Linked DNA regions of Homo sapiens: regions 1 and 3 are each linked to region 2. The links are contacts of gene promoters, found by promoter capture Hi-C in human tissues and cell types (Jung and others, 2019). All regions are on one chromosome and are shown on one strand. The core of a region is centred on a gene start or on the middle of the fragment in contact, and the rest is flanking DNA. Distances in the headings are between cores, read along the strand shown. Region 1 overlaps CDH3 (cadherin 3). Region 2 holds the start of TANGO6 (transport and golgi organization 6 homolog). Region 3 overlaps TANGO6 (transport and golgi organization 6 homolog).

The links. The method cuts DNA at HindIII sites, captures the fragments that hold promoters and counts their contacts. A contact is called where the count stands out against the background at its distance.
Region 1: a contact is called between a fragment that was not itself captured here and the fragment with the promoter of TANGO6 in region 2, in 1 of the 25 tissues and cell types used here (mesenchymal stem cells).
Region 3: a contact is called between a fragment that was not itself captured here and the fragment with the promoter of TANGO6 in region 2, in 2 of the 25 tissues and cell types used here (bladder and lymphoblastoid cells).

What each region holds. Positions count from the first base shown.
Region 1 is chr16:68,679,902-68,683,613 of GRCh38, reverse strand. It overlaps CDH3 (cadherin 3), which reads right to left. Exons shown (of 16, transcript NM_001793.6): 7 at 3,640-3,712; 8 at 2,518-2,646; 9 at 1,127-1,312. Among named protein-coding and RNA genes, the nearest start is that of CDH3-AS1, 36 kb to the right of the region's middle. The HindIII fragment of the contact is 4,049 bases long and covers 438-3,712 here.
Region 2 is chr16:68,841,856-68,845,624 of GRCh38, reverse strand. It overlaps TANGO6 (transport and golgi organization 6 homolog), which reads right to left and starts at 2,094. Exons shown (of 18, transcript NM_024562.2): 1 at 1,914-2,094. The coding sequence starts at 2,007. RefSeq lists an enhancer at 1,854-2,123. The HindIII fragment of the contact is 20,381 bases long and covers 1-3,769 here.
Region 3 is chr16:69,013,577-69,017,481 of GRCh38, reverse strand. All of the region lies in intron 15 of TANGO6 (transport and golgi organization 6 homolog), which reads right to left. Among named protein-coding and RNA genes, the nearest start is that of HAS3, 90 kb to the left of the region's middle. The HindIII fragment of the contact is 8,154 bases long and covers 1-3,905 here.

The DNA.
Region 1 (3,712 bases), core at 1,213-3,712, 160 kb after region 2:
GTGGTGCGATCTCGGCTCACTGCAAGCTCCACCTCCCGGGTTCACGCCATTCTCCTGCCTCAGCCTCCCAAGTAGCTGGGACTACAGGCGCCTGCCACCACGCCCAGCTAATTTTTTTGTATTTTTAGTAGAGACGGGGTTTCACCATGTTAGCCAGGATGGTCTCGGTCTCCTGACCTCGTGATCCACCCACCTCGGCCTCCCAAAGTGCTGGGATTACAGGCGTGAGCCACAGCACCCGGTCTGGATTTTTTCTTTATTTTAGTTAGGACATTCTCTATTTTTAGAAATAATGAGTTAGGTTAGTTATATTATAAATGAACTTCATTTCACATCATTTAACAATGTCGAAGTGGCATTACAAAGTATTTGTTGCAGAAAACAGGACAGCAAACCCCAGTCTTTAAAATATATTATTTCATACAATATTTTATACCCTGCTTCTCAAACCACACCATTCTTCATAGTAAACCAGGAAGTAAAAGAAACTGATGCAAGATTAGGCCCATCTTCATTTTTTTCTTTTTTAGTGCTGATGGGATCTTGCTATGTTCACCAGGCTCATCTGAAACTCCTGGCCTCAAGTGATCCTCCCACCTCAGCCTCCTAAAGTGCTGGGAATAAGTGTGAGCCACTGCGCCCAGCCTTATTCAGACTTTTTGACCCAACCCACGTCCTATACCCCAATAAAAACAAAAATACATACACACAAAAAAGAGACTTTTTGAGAGGCAAGAGTGTGCCTCAGTGATTCAAAACATTTTATTATCTAAACACCTAGACATGAGTTTTAGAGTAAATGCAAAGTCAACATGGATTTCAATAAGATGGACTCTCTATGTGAGACTGATTCGGGGCAGCCATTGGACACTGTGGTCTGGGAGGAGGCTCCACTGATGTGCTTCAATTAATCAGTGACTCTTACCTATTTATGAAGTGGGCTCCTGGGTAAGATTTAGTTTGAACAAAGGGACTTCCCAACACAAGAGTGGTAGAACAGTGTTGGGAGCCACTGGGCTGGTACGATTCCTGGACTAGCCCACGGTAGACAGTGGCTCCTCATCCTGAAGGCTGCAGACCTGACTGCCCCAGGTATAGCCATTGTCTGAGGCCCGAACTGACTCACCTTCCTGGTTGTCAGGATGCCCTGGTTGCTCTCAGGGTGGGTGGTGATGGTAAAATGGTCCCCGTCGTCACCGCCCATGATAAGGTAGGTGGCACGCCACGCTGGTGAGTTGGGGGCGTCCAGATCAGTGACCGTCAGCCTCTGCACCTCATGGCCCACTGCATTCTCAGGCACATGGGCCTCGTACTGTCAGTGTGAGAAGCACAGCACTATCAGAGCAGAGAATGACTGTCCTACTCCAGAGGCTGAGAAGCCTCCATCCAACCTCAGGGGATCCCCATGCCTTTACCCTTTCCTGGACCACCCACCCACTTTGCGGGGTTTCAGGGTATACACAGCGGCAGGATGTCCCCAGCAGCAGCCTCACAGCTGCTGGCACAGACCACACCAATCCTGTGCCTGCTTTCCCTACACGCAGGGGCCTGATGTTCCAGAAATCTCACGGGTTTGCATGCCCAAGCCCCTGCCACGTGTAGCTATCTATCCAGCTGAGATCAGAAAGGAATAAGGAAGGTGGCAAGAAGGGCTAGGTGCCTGAATGGGCTGGGGCACTGAACAGAAATTTTTTGGAGGTTCTGGGACATGTGACAAAGACTGGAAAATCAGTTGCTCGGAACAAAAAATTTATTTATTTATTTTTATTTTATTTTTTTAGACAGTCTCAGTCTGCCGCTCAGGCTGGAGTGCAGTGGTGTGATCTCGGCTCACTGCAACCTCCACCTCCCAAGCTCAAGCGATCCTCATGTCTCAGCTTCCCAAGTAGCTGGGACTACAGGTGTATGCCACTGCACCTGGTTAATTTTTGTATTTTTAGTAGAGACGGGGTTTCGCCATATTGGCCAGGTTCGTCTTGAACTCCTGGCCTCAAAAGTGTTCTGCCCGCCTTGGCCTCCCAAAGTGCTGGGATTACAGGTGTGAGCCACCGCCCCTGGCGTCATTACAAATTTTTATTCAGACCTAATTAACGTTCAGAGTTGTCTAAAGATGGAAGGGGGAGGATGTAATTGGCACCTTGATTGGCACTGAGTCCTCTGCCTTGGAGGTACACAAGCATTCACTGGGAAAAGATGGGCAGGTGTAGGTACAAGGAAAATATGTTTTCAAATCAACAAAGATTTTCATATCAAGCACTTCTTTTAGGGCATCGTGTTAGGAAACGTACATAGATTATTTCATTTGAAACTCAGAACAATGCAGCAGGTATTATCATTATCTCCTTTTCACAGATTAGGAAATGGGGCACAGAGAGGTTAGGTAGTTTTCCTAAGGTCACACAGCCATAGTGCTGAGACTGGCATTTGAAGCAATATAGACTGGTTCCAGTTTCCTGAGAAAGGCAAACTTTGGTCCTTCATTATCTGATGAGGGACTGAGTGAGGAAGGGGCATTACCTTCTGGGGGTCAAACATGGGAGCATTGTCATTGGCATCAAGGATCTCCACTACTGCCACTGCCGTGGTGGTGGAGCCGTCCCCATCCATGTCTGTGGCCTGGATGGTCAGTGTGTACTCAGGGACTTTCTGGGGAGAAAGGAGAGGGGAAGCCCATTGTGAGTTTAATCTGAAGGGTCCCTCCCCTGACCTCCAGGAAGCACTGGCTCATGGGTGTGTGGATGGAGAGGAGGATCTCTCCCTATCATAACGCTGACTCCTTGACCACCCCTCACCCACTGCCAGGAGAACAGAAGCAGAGGATGCTGTTGGAGAGGGAACGAGTGATCCAAATAGTTCTCCTGGGCCTGTCCTAGGGAAGCCTTGGCATCGCCCCCTGACCCTTAACTGCTCCAGAATGAGTCTTGCTTTTGTTTTTGAGACAGGATCTTGCCCTGTCGCCCAGGTTGCAGTGTAGTGGCGTGATCTTGGCTCACTGCAAACTCCACCTCCCAGGTTCAAGTGATTCTCCTGCCTCAGCCTCCCAAGTAGCTGGGATTACAGGTGCCTGCCACCACGCCCAGCTAATTTTTGTATTTTTAGTAGAGACAGGGTTTCACCATGTTGGCCAGGCTGGTCTTGAACTCTTGACCTCAAGTGATCCTCCCGCCTTGGCCTCCCAAAGTGCTGAGATTACATGCGTGAGCCACTGTGCCTGGCCTCAGAAAAAGAGTTTTGAGTGAGGATTTGGATAAAGGTATCAATTAGGAAACAGGCAGCAAATCCAGTATCCATGGAGCTAATTCTACTTTGTGGCACATAAGGGACCAATTTGGGTAATGTGCACACTAAGTGAGCCACTCTGAGAGGAAATGAGAAAACCTACAGAAAATACCAAAAGTAGGCATTTTACAGCTGCCTCCCAGCCCTGGAGGAGATTTAACGAGATTGGCTGGCAGCGGGCCACAGGCCCAAGGAACCAGGGGCATGGCATGTGAACCCAGCAGTGGCCATCCCAGCTGACGTGGGTCCTCACTGTTCTGCCTTGGGCTTTGTGGGCAGGGATAGGAGCTTCTGCTCTCAGAGTCAGTTCCCAGCCTGGGCAAGTCTGGGTAGGCAGTACTTTCCCTAAGGGCCACTCACTTCCCGGTCCAGGCCACTGGAGATGACGCTGATGGTGCCTGTGCTCCGGTGAATGGTGAACATGAGGTCGTGT
Region 2 (3,769 bases), core at 845-3,344:
TCCTGCCTCAGCCTCCCAAAGTGCTGGGATTACAGGTATGGCCCACCTCGCCCAGCCACTACAGATATTTTTAAATTCCCTAAGCAGCTAATATGATAAAATAGTAGACAGATTCATATAATATATAAGACTACATGTACAAAATAATATAATTTCACGAACTAATTCCTCTTCAAATAGGAATGCTTGAATTTCTGTAAATTAAATGAGTACATATATGTGTACTCCACCACATACTCATAGAGATTAGAGAGTCTTCTATAAATGAAGCATAATATACATGTTTCATAACAGATGATTACTTTCAGGATTTTTGCTTATTTAAACGTGTTCTCAGTCATACAATAGAGAGTTGCAGGCCAGGTGTAGTGGCTCAGGCCTGTAATCCCAGCACTTTGGGAGGCCAAGGCAGGCAGATCACTTGAGGTCAGGAGTTCGAGACCAGCCTGGCCAACATGGCAAAACTCCGTCTCTACTAAAAAGACAAAAATTAGCTGGGCATGGTGGTGTGCACCTGTAATCCCAGCTACTCGGGAGGCTGAAGCAGGAGAATCGCTTGAACCTGGGAGGCAGAGGTTGCAGTGAGCCGAGATTGTGCCACTGCACTCCAGCCTGGGCAACAGAGTGAGACCTCATCTCAAAAAAAAAAAAAAAAAAGAGTTGCCGTTAGAAGACAAGTGACCTCTCGATTAGCAACTTAAAATTCTATTTTGCAGTCTGACTCTTAATTGAGACAATGTAGCATATTTACCATACTTTTAGTGGAAATAACCTAAATTCAAATTCTGCCACTTACTAGTCTGACATTGGGCAATTTCCAATGTACCTGAACCTTGGTCCTTCATCCGTAAAAATTGAATACAAGTAGTACCGATCCCAGGGGATCGTAATGAGGATTAAATGATGTGTATGTCAACAGCCTACTATGGGGACTGATACTTAGTAGGCACTCATTTACTAATATTAGTAACTTGTGTTCACTTCCCGCTGGTGTGGTGTAATGTTTGCAGAAGTTTTTGCAGTTTTAAGTATAAAATCTGAGACTGGGAGGTGATCCCCTTTGGCCTTTCATGTGCCCTTGCTAATTCTACAGATCCCTTCCCATCCCTTCCCCCAAATATACACCCCAGTGATAAGCAGAGCTCTATCTTCCACGTCCTTTCCAAAAGCTCCAGATAACATCAGAGCCCCTATACTGAACAATTTGTCTGATTCTGAGAAGGGGGTTCAGTAGATCTCGGGCCTAGGTCCGTGTTCTGCCCCTAATTTGACCACGTGATCTTGGACAGGTTACTTAATTTCTTCAGTGAGCCTTGGGTGTCCTCAGTCGCAAAAGGAGTAGCAGCTTCAACCACTCCCAATATCCCTTCAGATTTTAGACTGGGAAGAAACTGTCCACGCACCACAAAGATTAAAAGCGCCTGGTAACCCCTAAATACTCTCCCCAAACCCATTTCAAACGTCACTGCTTCCGATGTCTGGACTTCTTGGCATTTCGTACAAATCTCAAGGGTCCATGCTGGCCCCTGCGCCCTCACGCGGCTAGGACCTCACATTTCTACGTCGCGGGCGCCCTACCCTCTCTGGAGCTGGGTCCATATCCCCCTCCCAAGAGCGCTGCAGTAAGCACTGAATGAAATAACGGCCCCGCCTGACAGAGCCCAGCACAAGGCAAATGCTCAAGAGATGTTGGCTAATATCAGCAGTCAACGGATCCCGCGCCCTCCTTGAGCCTCAGTTTCCTCAAGAACGTAATGAGGACGGGCATAGACAATGCTCAAAGCCCCCAGCAGCGGGCGGAGGGTCCCGAGGCGGGCCTAAGGGGCGCACGCTGCGGAAGGCAGGGCAGCCCCGGAAGCCGGGCGGCCCTGAGAGTCCCGGGTCCAGCCCGGCGCGGAGATGCGTCCTCTCACCTCCCGGGCTCAGCAGCAGCTTCAATGCCTCCAAAATCCGATCCAGACCGCATGTCTCCTGAGCCCCGCTGCCCACGGCCTGTCGGGCCGCCATGACTGGAGTGTAACACCACGCTCGCGACCCGCTCAGGCGCCTCGGCAGGGCGCCGCCGCCGCCATGTTAAGTGTGGCAGAAGGCTCTGGGCACACTATGGGGCGGGGCCAAATCGATCGGGAACGCCCCCTTCACATTTTTTTTCCGTCCCGGCTTAGTCCGGGGGGTAAGAGGGAACCCAAAAATGGCTAATCTGCCCACGCGCACAATTTCAGAAGCTCAATATGATTAACCGCTATGTAAAGAAGGAAGAGAGAAGTAATGTATCATTAAAGCTATATTTCAATATGAAAATACTCAGGTACTCAACACTGGCAGACATAATGAAGCAGACAGATGCTTCCATCTGCTTACAGTGAAGTATGGATAAGAAAAACAATATTCAGGCTGGGCGCGGTGGCTCACACCTGTAATCGCAGCACTCTGGGAGGCCGAGGCGGGCAGATCACAAGGTCAGGAGTTTGAGACCAACCTGTCCGATATGGTGAAACCCCGTCTCTACTAAACATACAAAAATTAGCCAGGCGTGGTGGCGGGCGCCTGTAGTCCCAGCTACCCGGGAGGCTGAGGCAGGAGAATCGCTCGAAGCTGGGAGGTCGAGGTTGCAGTGAGCCGAGATCACACCACTGCACTCCAGCCTGGGCGACAGAGCGAGACTCCATCTCAAAACAAACAAACAAACAAAACCTAAGTACAGACGTACACACGCATATATATCCATCGTGAATGTAAAGCTACAAATGTTGTTATGGGTAATATGATTTTTTTTTTCAGTGAACTTAGTAAAGTTCCCAGTAAAAGTTCGATCTGTGTTCTGTTTTCATGGTTGATGCATTCCTCGAAAATTCAGGGTCTATCAAAACCATGCCCTCCGCCAAACTGTTTTTATATGTAAAACAGAATGGATTTGAGATTCAGATTATCGGAAACAGGTTTTCACCTACATAAATCCTGGTGGGACGTTGAAAAACCATGTTGTCTGAAAGTCATGCCGCAGACACAGGACAATGTTTTTGAGGGCAGGACCTTTATTTTTATTTTATTTTTTGAGATGGGGTCTCGCTCTGTCGCCTAGGCTGGAGTTCAGTGGCGTGATCTCGGCTCACTGCAACCTCTGCCTCCCAGGCTGAAACAATTATCTGGCCTCAGCCCCCCGAGTAGCTGGGATTACTGGAGTGCCCCAGCATGCCCGGCTAATTTTTGTATTTTTTGTGGAGACAAGGTTTCGCCCTCTTGGCTAGGCTGGTCTTGAGCTCCTCACCTCAAGTGACCTGCCCACCTGGGCCTCCCAAAGTGCTGGGATTACAGGCGTGAGCCACTGCGCCCGGCCCAAAGGACAAACTTCTTAATGGTCCGGTCCTTGGGCGAGAATAAGCTGCGCATAGCTATTACCCTTTTTGGCATGACTCTTGTTTCTTCTTTTCTTTGTCATTTTGGAATGCAGGGCCTGAGAGGGAAAAACGCTAAAAATTTTTTTTTAGAGATGGAGTCTCTATGTTGCCCAGACTTGTCTCAAACTCCTGGCCTCAAGTGATCCTCCTGCCTCAGCCTTCCGAATAAAATCTTGTGTGTGTGTGTGAGACAGAATCTCACTGTCACCCGGGCTGAAGTGCAGTGGTGTGATCTTGGCTCACTCCAACTTCTGCCTCCCCTGCTCAAGTGATCCTCCCGCCTCAGCCTCCCAAGTAGCTGGGACTACAGATGCATGCCACCACACCCGGCTAATTTTTGTAGAGATGGCGTTTCACCATGTCACCCAGGC
Region 3 (3,905 bases), core at 399-2,898, 170 kb before region 2:
TCTACAAGCAGGGGAAATTGCAGGTTGAAAAGGGTAAGAACACAGGAGAAACATTTTAATGTTTACTAATATAGTGGCTTATAGTTAAAAATAAATGATAAAGAAAAGGCATATTAACTTATCAAATAATGATTAAGTGTGTACTATGTGTCTGCCACTGTGCTGGGCCCTGGGGGACTAATCATAAGCAAGAAAGATACAGTCCTTACCCTCATGGCAAAACCTAATGGGGAAGAGGAAAAATACTGACCAAGCAATAACAATGGAGTGAGATGTGCCAAAATGGTGACAGAGAGGGACTTTTATGAGTAATGTTTGATCTGGTTTCTATTCTATTAACAACAGCTCCAGTATTATCTTATTTGCTCAGACTCTAAAGTGTGTTCATTTTTTTTTCACTACTCCCTGTTACCCTTCAATTAGTTCACTTATTATTCAGTCTTCGTTTACTTCCACACAGGATCTGAAGCAACTTACAATAAATAACGTTGAAACCATGTGTCATTAAAATAAACATTTTAGGCTGGGTATGGTGGCTTACACCTGTAATCCCAGCACTTTGGGAGGCTGAGGTGGGCGAATCACCTGAGGTCAGGAGTTTGAGACCATCCTGGCCAACATGGTGAAACCCATCTCTACTAAAAATACAAAAAATTTAGCCAGGTGTGGTGGTGCCTGCCTGTGGTCCCAGCTACTCAGGAGGCTGAGGCAGAAGAATAGCTTTAACCCAGGAGGCGGAGGTTGCAGTGAGCTGAGATCGCACCATTGCACTCCAGCCTGGGTAGAGACTCCATCTCAAAATAATAATAATAAATAAAATAAAATACATAAAATAAATATTTTAAAACCTCTACAGTAAGTGAGAGAAGTGCAGACATCCCAAGCTAAGAATGGCTACTGCAAATAAACCAAGAGTTTAGTAGTTTAATTTTACAATTCTTGGTAGCTAAGGCAAAAAAGGAATTAGAAAACACAGCTCTCATTATCCAATAAAAGAAGGAACATCATGAAGAGAGAGAAACTTCAGGAAGGACACTAAGAGGTATCTCATTCATTCATCCGGCAAATCTTTTTTTTTTTTTTGAGATGGAGTTTCGCTCTTGTTGCCCAGGCTGGAATGCAACAGCGCAATCTCGGCTCACCGCAACCTCCCTCTCCCAGGTTCAAGTAATTCTCCTGCCTCAGCCTCCCAAGTAGCTGGGATTACAGGCATGTGCCACCACGCCTGGCTAATTGATCCAGCAAATCTTAATTGAGTGCCCACAGTACTCCAATGTGCCAATGTTCTCAGTACTGAGGACAATATGGCATGAACAAGAAATCAAAGCTCCCATCTTCATGAAGCCTACTTCTAGCGGGGAAGAAAGACAATAAATAATAAAATTTCCAGCAGCAATGAAGGCTATGAAAAAAAATAAGGAGCGGGGGAGTTGACAATGTGGGTGAGGGCTCAGGGAAGAGCTCTCAGAGGAGAAGACCTCAAGGAACAAGGCATGTGAGGGCCTGGTGGAAAAGTGAAGAAGAGAGTGGGCAATAGAAGCTTTATATTCAATGCAGGAATCATACGGCTGTTTCTTATACTGACTGGCCATATAAGTCAAGAGCATATCACTATATTAACAAAACTGCAACTTAACGTTCCATTTATGTAAATTCCTGCCCTAACTGAGCTCCAGCACTCCTTTGAAAATGAGCATCCATTGGCCAGGTGCGGTGGCTCATGCCTGTAATCCCAGCACTTTGGGAAGCAGAGGGGGCGGATCATGAGGTCAGGAGATCGAGACCATCCTGGCTAACATGGCGAAACCCGGTCTCTATTAAAAATACAAAAAATTATCTGGGCGTGGTGGCGGGCGCCTGTAGTCCCAGCTACTCGGGAAGCTGAGGCAGGAGAATGGCGTGAACCCAGGAGGTGGAGCTTACAGTTAGCCGAGATCATGCCACAGCACTCCAGCCTGGGCGACAGAGCAAGACTCTGTTTAAAATAAATAAATAAATAAATAAATAAATAAATAAAATAAAATGAGCATCTGTTAAACTACATGCTCCATCAACCCATCCCAGCTACATCTGAGAACCCAAGAAGCCAGTGGGAGTGTCAGCATCTCAGACCCTGCATTGTACCTGGTCAGCTGGCTCTGGGCTCACTTGCTACCTTGTTTTCCAAGTGTTGGACTGGAAGAACTGGAACACTCACTGCATCCACTCTGCATTTCTCAAAGGGCCCCTGCCTCCACGTTCTCCGAGACTGGACCTCTCTTAGGCCTCACATACATAGCCTAGATCTGTCACATACTTGGCTCAAACCTGGTCTTCTTTGGGGATTTATGACCTTGCCTTCATTTCTTGGGGCTCTGCTACCCTCTGACTAATCTTCCCTCCCTTCTGATCTTGTGATAGAGGTCTCAGGACTGTATTGTACCCTAGTCTCCAGGTGGGAGTTGGCTTGAACTGGTTTCTATGGAGAACAAAATGAATGCACATAGTCAAAGAATCTTCCAGGGCTGCAATTTGGCATAGGCATTGAATTTTAAGATCCTACATAAGAGGTTCTTTGTCTTTTCTTTTTCTTTTTTTTTTTTTTTTGAGACAAGGTCTTGTTCTGTCACCCAGGCTAGAGTGCAGTGGTGCAATCATAACTCACTGCAGAATCAAACTCCTGGGCTCAAGAGATCCTCTTGCTTTAGCCTCCTGAGTAGGGTGGGACTATAGATGCACACCACCATGCCCAGCTGGTTACAATTTTTTTTACAGAGATTGGGCCTTGCTATGTTGCCCAGGCTGGTCTCGAACTCCTGGGCTCAAGTGATCCTCCTGCCTTAGACTCCCAAAGTGCTGAGATTATAAGTGTGAGCCACTGTGCCCAGCCCAGGGGTTAATTTGAGCTTTAGGGATTCCTCTATGTCAAATTTTGTATACATCTCACTGGCATTTTCCCAATTTTCCTTACAAACAGTACATTAATTTTGTTCAAGTATCCACCTGTCGCCATCCCTCCCCATGTGATTCAGGCTACAGTTTCCATTGGTCTAAGTGAATCGTGGTGGACATCTCCCTTTGCTTTAATTGGTTTAGGCATGGGCATGTGACCCAGTTCTGGACAAGGAGTTGTGAAGGAAAGTCTGCTAGAAGACTCTCAGAAAACTTTTTGCCTTTGGCTATCATAAGGATATATGAATTAGGGTTGCCTTAGAGTTGCTGCAACCAACTTGAAACCATGAGGAACTAAAGGATAAGGCCCATAAGCTGTGGTTGACAGAGAAAGATGAAAAGAATATGGGTCTTCAATGATGTCACTGAGCTAGAGAATTAGCAATCCTGGAATTTTTGTTATGTGTGATAATTCATTCTTTGTTAAGCCACTTGAGTTGGGAATTTCTGTTACTTGCAGCCAAAAGCATCCTGATATATGAAAACTGGAATGCTCTTCATATATAAAGTTGTAGAATACCTCAATGTCAATCCTATGTCTATCAATATGAAACATCAAAAAAGTTAGATTTGTCAAAACTAAGGAACTTGGGGGCCAGGCACGGTGGCTCACGTCTGTAATCCTAGCACTTGGGGAGGCCAAGGCAGGCAGATTGCCTGAGCTCAGGAGTTCAAGAGCAGCCTGGCCAACACAGCGAAACTCTGTCTTTACTAAAAATATAAAAAATTAGCTAGGCATGGTGGCACATGCCTGTGGTCGTAGCTACTCGGGAGGCTGAGGCACGAGAATTGCTTGAGCCCAGGAGGTGGAGGTTGCAGTGAGCCAAGATTGTGCCACTGCACTCTGGCCTGTGTGACAGAGTGAGACCTGGTCTCGGAAAAAAAAAAAAAAAAAAGGAACTTAAGGCAACCCCGCCTTTTTTTTTTTTTTTTGGAGACAGGGTCTTGTTCTGTCGCCCAGGTTGGAGTGCAGT